Linked DNA regions of Homo sapiens: region 1 is linked to region 2. The links are contacts of gene promoters, found by promoter capture Hi-C in blood cells and fetal thymus (Javierre and others, 2016). All regions are on one chromosome and are shown on one strand. Each heading gives the region's core, a stretch centred on a gene start or on the middle of the fragment in contact. The rest is flanking DNA. Distances are from core to core; before and after follow the strand shown.

Evidence for each region. The method cuts DNA at HindIII sites, captures the fragments that hold promoters and counts their contacts. A CHiCAGO score of 5 or more calls a contact.
Region 1: the fragment with the promoter of MTX3 here is called in contact with the fragment with the promoter of ANKRA2 in region 2 in 1 of 17 cell types (total B cells); the score reaches 5.4 in total B cells.

Annotation. Positions count from the first base shown.
Region 1 is chr5:79,989,500-79,992,950 of GRCh38, reverse strand. It overlaps MTX3 (metaxin 3), which reads left to right and starts at 1,689. Exons shown (of 9, transcript NM_001363818.2): 1 at 1,689-1,793; 2 at 2,288-2,357; 3 at 2,715-2,791. The coding sequence starts at 1,713. It also overlaps a transcript of THBS4 not described here. RefSeq lists an enhancer at 2,022-2,191. The HindIII fragment of the contact is 4,262 bases long and covers 1-2,604 here.
Region 2 is chr5:73,563,790-73,567,526 of GRCh38, reverse strand. It overlaps ANKRA2 (ankyrin repeat family A member 2), which reads left to right and starts at 1,888. Exons shown (of 9, transcript NM_023039.5): 1 at 1,888-2,395. UTP15 (UTP15 small subunit processome component) reads right to left here and starts at 1,784. Exons shown (of 13, transcript NM_032175.4): 1 at 1,615-1,784; 2 at 93-265. The coding sequence starts at 182. RefSeq lists enhancers at 1,519-2,073, 1,645-2,204, 2,215-2,424, 2,445-2,494, 2,074-2,628. The HindIII fragment of the contact is 2,502 bases long and covers 1,473-3,737 here.

The DNA.
Region 1 (3,451 bases), core at 440-2,939, 6.4 Mb before region 2:
GCCTTTGTCAGTCTATGGTTTGACATTTCTAACCCTCAAAACAGGGAGGTTCCATTACAATCTGAAAGTTGAATTACTTTACTTTCTTTATACTGAAGACTCAACAGATAGTCTCCACTGATCACACAGAGGATGCACTGTCCCTCCTTTGTGTTTCTGTAGTATTTTGCTTATATTTCTAACCCTACTCGTGATTATCTGACTTGTTACACCTTGGTGTGTGTATATCTCCTTTGTGCACTGTAAACTCCCGAGGACAGAATTCATGTTTTATATATTTCTGTATTGTTCCAGAACCTTATGATGTCTAAGACATAGGAGCTGCTCAATAAATGTTTCGACAGTTTTAATGGTACATATGTTATGCATTTTCCAATTATACAGTTATTATTAATGAATTCTCATTTCTGACATATCTCTTTTTCATTTCTTAGAACTCTTGGTTTTGAAACATGTAAAAAAGACTTTAGCAGGCTGGCACTGTAATTTGAATGATTATGTAAACAGTAAGGGAGTGCCTAGCAAATATTTGTTGAATAGTAATTTTACGAAAAGTTGCAGAGGTTTCTTTTGAGTTTTAGTTAAGAAGATCCGACCATCTCAGTGGAATAGAGGAAAGAACTCAGAGGCATGACTGCGAGGGTGTCCCAGAAAGACTACTGTGCCTTCTAGAAAAAAGACCCAGCACCCAAGTTCTAACTCTGAGACCCAGTCATATGTTTGGATCATAGCATTTCCAAGACCAAAATTTCCTCTTTAATAGTTTTTCTGAGAAACTGTCAGGTTTAACGTCAAGAAACATTTAGTCTGTGCTCATTAGGCCCACAGACATGACGAGCTACATGATTTGAGGGGCCCAGTCCAAAATAAAAATGCAGAGCCCCTTGTTCAAAACTTAAGAATTTCAAGACAGTGACGGAAGAGCATCAGCCAAATGAGGAGCCTTTTTAAGCACAGAGCCTTGTGTGGCTGCACAGGTCCCAAACCTATGAAGCTAGCCCTCTTCTGTGAAAGGCAAAAGGTCTGTAGCTAGGGAGAGAAGCTACAATTCAAATATGCACAAGGGGCTACAAGAACCCAGAGCTCCTAACTTTGTAAAAACATCACAGGGAAGGTGAGTTAAGCTCATTTTTGAGGGAGCAGCTGCATAGGGAAGAAAGATATTCCAGATTGAAGGACCAGCACTGAAGGTGGGCACAATTTACCTGACGTTCAGAAATACTGTAACTTTTAAGCAGGGTTGTGCCAGTGAACATGAGGGTGAGAACAGGTTGAGGCTGGAAAGGCAGGCAGAGGCCACATACATGGGAGAAGGGGTTGAACAATTACTGAGTGCCTCCTGTGTGCCAAGTTCTTTCTCTCCGACATTGTAAATACCACAATCTTGTAAATACTGGGTCATCCCTGTTTTACAAACAGGTTAATTTAGGCATCACACAGATTTAATGTTCAAAGGGTTTGGAACACTCTAGGGATCTAATAAATATTAATATTTGAAGAATTACTGGTGGGTCTGACTTAAGGCACACAACTCTTACCCTTTAGGCCAAGCTGCTCCTAAGAGTTCTTCTTAATCCCTCCAGTCGTTGTTTCTCTCATCTCTCAAGAGCCCCCAAATTACCCTTCCCTCCCTTAGCCACGCCCCCGCGTTTCACGTGCCGGAAATTAGGAGGAAAAGTACTTCCGGGATAGTAAAGGTCGGCCCGCGCAAGATGGCGGCCCCCTTGGAACTCAGTTGCTGGGGAGGCGGCTGGGGACTCCCATCGGTTCACAGCGAGTCCCTGGTGGTGATGGTGAGGCCGCCTCGCGGGCCAGGGCGCAGGAGGAAGGGGCGGGGCTGGAGGCGCCAGGCTGACTTGCCCCAGTTTCCCGCTGCGCTGCGGGGTCCAGGAGGGCCGAGCCGCTGCACGCTGCATTGCCCTGGGCTCCCTCCCACCGACGAGTCCCAACCTGGCCGATACCCCCGCCGAAGGCCGGCGGCGACATCAAGGCTTCTCCGCTTGGCTCCGAGTTTTGTCCGCCTCACAAAGCTGTCTGGGCGGTGGAGTGAAACCCCGAAGCAAGGGGCGCGCCCTCCCTACTCTGCATCCCCAGGACCTTTTGGGGAGCAAAGTCCTCGAAAGCCGGGTGGCTGGCGCCCGCGTCCCTACTTGAGATCACGGGGAGGGATGCGGCCTCAGTATCAGTCGCCTTCTGCCTTTGGGGGATGGGGCTGTGAAGTAAAGCTGCTCTGCAGCTTTGCATTACGCACTTGGTCTAAAATGTTTGATTGCAAACTCTGTTTCAGGCTTATGCCAAATTTTCTGGTGCACCCTTGAAAGTCAATGTGATAGATAACACCTGGAGAGGTTCAAGAGGTATAGTGTAAACCTTTACACTCCCCTTTCTGCACTCTTTTTTTTCTTCTTCCATTTAAAGCTGTGAGGTATATAGCTATAATATTGAGGATTTAGTTTCTTACCGTGACCTTGGCTCTGTGTTGTTTATGGTTTGATCATTCTGAGTAATACCTCAAAGTGCAAGCGAAATCACTGGAAATTATGAGAAACGAAAATGTTCTTTAGAACCGCTCTTTGTGAAACAGCAAAAAAACCAAGACAAGCTTACTCATTTTTTCCCCTCTAAATGTGCAACTGCTATAGTTTTTAGGATATTGGAATCTCTCAGAGGAAATCACACTGTGTCCTTGTATGTAAACTGTTTTTTGATTATAGGCGATGTACCAATTTTGACAACTGAAGACGACATGGTTTCTCAGCCAGCAAAAATACTAAACTTTTTAAGAAAACAGGTGGGTGGTTCACTTTGAAGAAGTAGATTGGTAGATTGTTGATCCCTGCATGTTGGGCTTTATTTTATTTATTTATTTTTTTTTGCCAACTCATTAGACAATTGGAGATACCTGGGACAAGATGTAAAAATAGATTTGAGAATCACTGCTCTAAAGCATGAGTTCTGTGATTTGAAAGTCATATGAAGAGGTAGTCAGTTTATATTTTAATAAACTTTGCTTGAATTTTATTGAAATTTGTATGTAAGTAGATTTAATTAGCCATTTTCACTATTAAACTTATTGATAGGATTGTGTATTTTGTCACATAGTTGGTACACATTTTGTGCTGGGCATGACACCTGAGCTCTCACCAACTAGCAACTATATTATTTTTAAAAAGCTCTTAATAGCAGTTTTATGGAATAATGTATCTAAATGTTTTAACAGTAGAGAATTATGTATCCAAAATGTTTAAACATGTAAAGATTTATATGAATGGATAAGTTATTTGTTTTGCCAATACTGTACTTAAAAAAATTGTGTCAATAACATTTTGAACTTTTATAAATTGGAAGGTTTTTTCTTTTGTCTTGGGGAGAAACACAGCCAATTGGAACTGTTTCCTTCTTGTTAAAAATAATAGTTGCTTTGTTTGTACTACATGCCATGCACTGAACT
Region 2 (3,737 bases), core at 639-3,138:
TAATTCTCTGTTAGAGCATCCAGAGTATAACATATGCTAGAGAAATTGGCATAAACACAAATCCCTTCTCCCTCATTACGTCCCACACTCACCTTATAGTTGTTCCAGTACAGTGTATCTTGGGTGATTTTTTCACCAAGTATAGGATATGTCTGAATAGCTACAGGCTTATAACCAGCCATAATTCCATATAATTGCACTATTGTCCAAGAGTCACTATTTTGGAATTGGTATTAGAAATAATTACAGTGACTCTGCCTTAATTCTGAAAAATAAAATATTTTATATACATATTATAAGCTTGTACACATAGTTGATTTTCACTCTGCTTTCTTTAAAAAGTCTGTGTGGAAGTATATAGATTAGAGACCAATAAGCCATTTAATTCTAACCCAGAAAAGGCAATCTATAGGAAGCAGGAATAATTAAAGTGAAGGCTATCATATCGCACCATCTATTCAGCTGTACACAAAGGTTCTCACACCTAGCCAACCATTTTACAACACTTAGGAATAAATCTAGCACAGCCTTACAGTAGCCAAACCAAAAAGGATCATGCTGGCTTTGAGTGTCCATTTTTTGGCAACAGGAAATATTAAGGTGAAACTGCAAATACAAGTTTCCTGAAACCAAGTTTAAGATGACATTTAATCTATAACAATTATAGTTACGGATTTGATTTCCTGAAAGCCTAAAAATGCCAAGAAGTAAGAAACACAAAGCTAATATTCTAATGTAGAAGCTTAAAATTAAATTTACTTTAAAAGGTTTAAACAGTAGGAAAGAAAACTGTAATAAAGCAGTCCTGAAATTAAATTCAACACTAAAGTGGCAGAATAGGATAAAACTTTTAAATAACATGCAATCAAGCCAAAACATTTTTCCAGAACGACTCAATTGCAAAAGAGATTCAATGTTATCAGGTAAATGATTCCAGAGGTGCTGCTCATCATCTATTCCAAAAAGCCTGAAAACTTTACATTAGTAACACCACGATAAATAGGTGTAACATATATTTAAAAGGTGCTTTAATGAAATACAATGACCAATGATTGTATTTCACTGGTCTTTGGGAACACTCTTCTGTTCATTAAAGTACCTACCAATGTGCAGGACACTGCTCTAGGCACTGGGGCTATAATGGTGAATGAAATAAAGACATGGTCTGTGCCTTTGCTTACTCCAATATACTCCATTTTGGCTGGTGACTGGCACCAGATATTAACCTAGACTCAGCCTTGACGTGTCCTTTTCTTCCTCACTCCTAACATCCAAATAGTTAACAAGATCTGCTGATTTTATCTCCCAAATATTTTAAAACTCCATTAGGTTCACTTCACCTGAGGGAGCCTCGTAAGCAAAGGCAAAGATGGAAATGTGTCCATTGCCTTGGAGAGTTGCTGATTACTCCGGGAACTAACAACGGTGGACAGGAAAGGGTGTAATCGCAGAGAAGAACCTAGGTCGAAGCTTAATTGAGGGGAACTTGAGCCGGTTAAAGAATTTGGCCACTCTCCTATATAGCCTGGGAAGCCCCAGAAGAGCATGCCAGATTAACACAGGAAGGCCGGGTGTGAGTGTGGGCTTCCCTCAATGGGAGCCGCCTTCACCTACCTCCACTGAGCCCCAAAGGGTCCGACGAGACACCTCGACCCAAGGACAATTAATCGGACTGTGCCAGCTCCCTACCCTGCACAGTTCAGCAGCACTGGCGTAAAAATCACATGGACCCTCAAGGAGCCGGCGACACACACAGCGAACCGAACGTCGCGCGAAGATGACGTACCAGAGCACGCTCATGAGACTCACGCAGCCCGGCGGCGCAGAGGCGGGTCAGGTGGGCGGGGCGATCTGGAGTAGGAGGTGTGACCGGAGGGCGAAATTGGGGCTTCCTCTGCTCTGGTGACCCAGAACCGTCAACTGAAATGACCCTGTCTGTGTAGTACTCCGGCAGGATGGGCCTCGGAGCGTAAAGGCGGCAAAAACAAAAATATTAAAAAAAAGGAGAGAGGGACAAAAAAAAGAAAACCCGAAAGTTTCAGCTGCATTGCTGCGGAACGTTTTTTAGCCAGAAGGCGAAAGAAGAAATCGGAAGTGACGTCGCGGCCAAAACAAGCCCGGGCTTGGAGGCCTGTACTGAAGCTGGCCTCAGATGGGAAGGCCCGACTCGCTGTCTGCTGTCGTCGGTGGTCGCGAGACCTTGCACTCTCACCGGGTCGGCCTCCAGCCCCTGTGCCCGGGATCCGCTCGCCGCGGATGAGCGAGAGTTTCTTCCTGGGACTTTTCGGGCACAGCTGGCCGGTGGCGACAGAACGGACTTTCTTTCCTGCAAGAGTCTCCCCTCCAGCGGGAGACAGCGGGCTCCTGTCTCGGGACGCTGGGACACCTGTCGCCTGTGAGGCATCATTTATTTTCATAGCACCTTCCTCTCCTTGTAGAATAATTCCAGGATCAGGAAGAAACGAGGGGCTCCTGTTATTAGCATCCACAGGAACTAGCATAGCTGCCCACTTTATCTCCGTAGACTCTCTATCCCTTCATCCCTGGGCTCTGACAGATCGAGGTGAACCTAGCTATCGATTGCCTTACCCCCTTTTTCTCACCACCACCTCTTCTAAGTCCTGTTACCCCACTCCCCTCACCCCCGCCTCCCTCTCCTGTTCTTCAAAATTTTGGCCTACCAATCAACTTTGCTTCTCCTCTCGTTAAACTGCTGTGCCAAGATAAGCGTTCATTTTCCACCCACCCCCTTCGCCTAAGCACATTTGCTATTCTCCTCTCGAAGACCTGTAATTCCATCTATAAACCCTGATTTGTAACATGGAAGCTGTTTAGAGCTGGAAAGAATATTAGAAAGGCCTATTTCAACACCTTTTTATAATAGATGAATTTCAGAAAACTTGTATTATTTATTTGTCCAGGAGTGGCCAGCTAGTTAGTAGCGATGTTGGGAGTGGAAAGCCAGGTCTAATCAGCAAATGTTAGAAATAGAAAAGAATATGGAAAAAATTGTTAAAGTTAAGATCAGAAAACATTTATGGAGCACCTGGTAGGACCAAGTACTGTTCTGTGTGCAAAAATTAGTAAGAGTGGTCCCCATCCTAGGGGAGTTTTCAATTTAGCTGTTATTTAAATGGAAATTGTCAAAAGGATGGTGAATGCTAAAATACAGATACATGCAGGGTGCTCAGAGAGCTTAGGGGAGTTGCACTTAGCCAACCGCTGGATAGGAGAAAGGGGGAGATGGTTCTTCCCTCAGGAAACACAGTTCACATTGTCCAGTCCCTTTTAAGACGCATGGACTAATGCATTGCACATCCATCTCCCTTTGAATCACTGAACTAATTTTCTTTTCTGGTTTCCTTCTTTTTGCCCAAATGTATTAACCTTCTTACTTCCTGCTTTTTTTTTTTTTCCTTACTATACTATGTGTTATTTATTCAACTCTCTCGTGGAGATTTTGGCTTTGTTTAGGGCTGCCTCATTTTAATGGTCAGAGTGATGGAGTCAGAAGAGCTGAGTAAGCCCTCATAATTCATGAGCTTCCTTTTTTACCCCTCCTAGGTGGACATATGATTACCTGACCTGCCTACTCAAAGGATTGTTATAAAGACTAATCTTTGAAAATGTTTTTAAAATTGTAGAAGGTGGTTATCTGTAAATGTATGGTTTCGCGACCCTTGCTCCACTGCGATCCTAATGCATTTTTCTTTTAATTCCAATTCCAATTTTGAAAC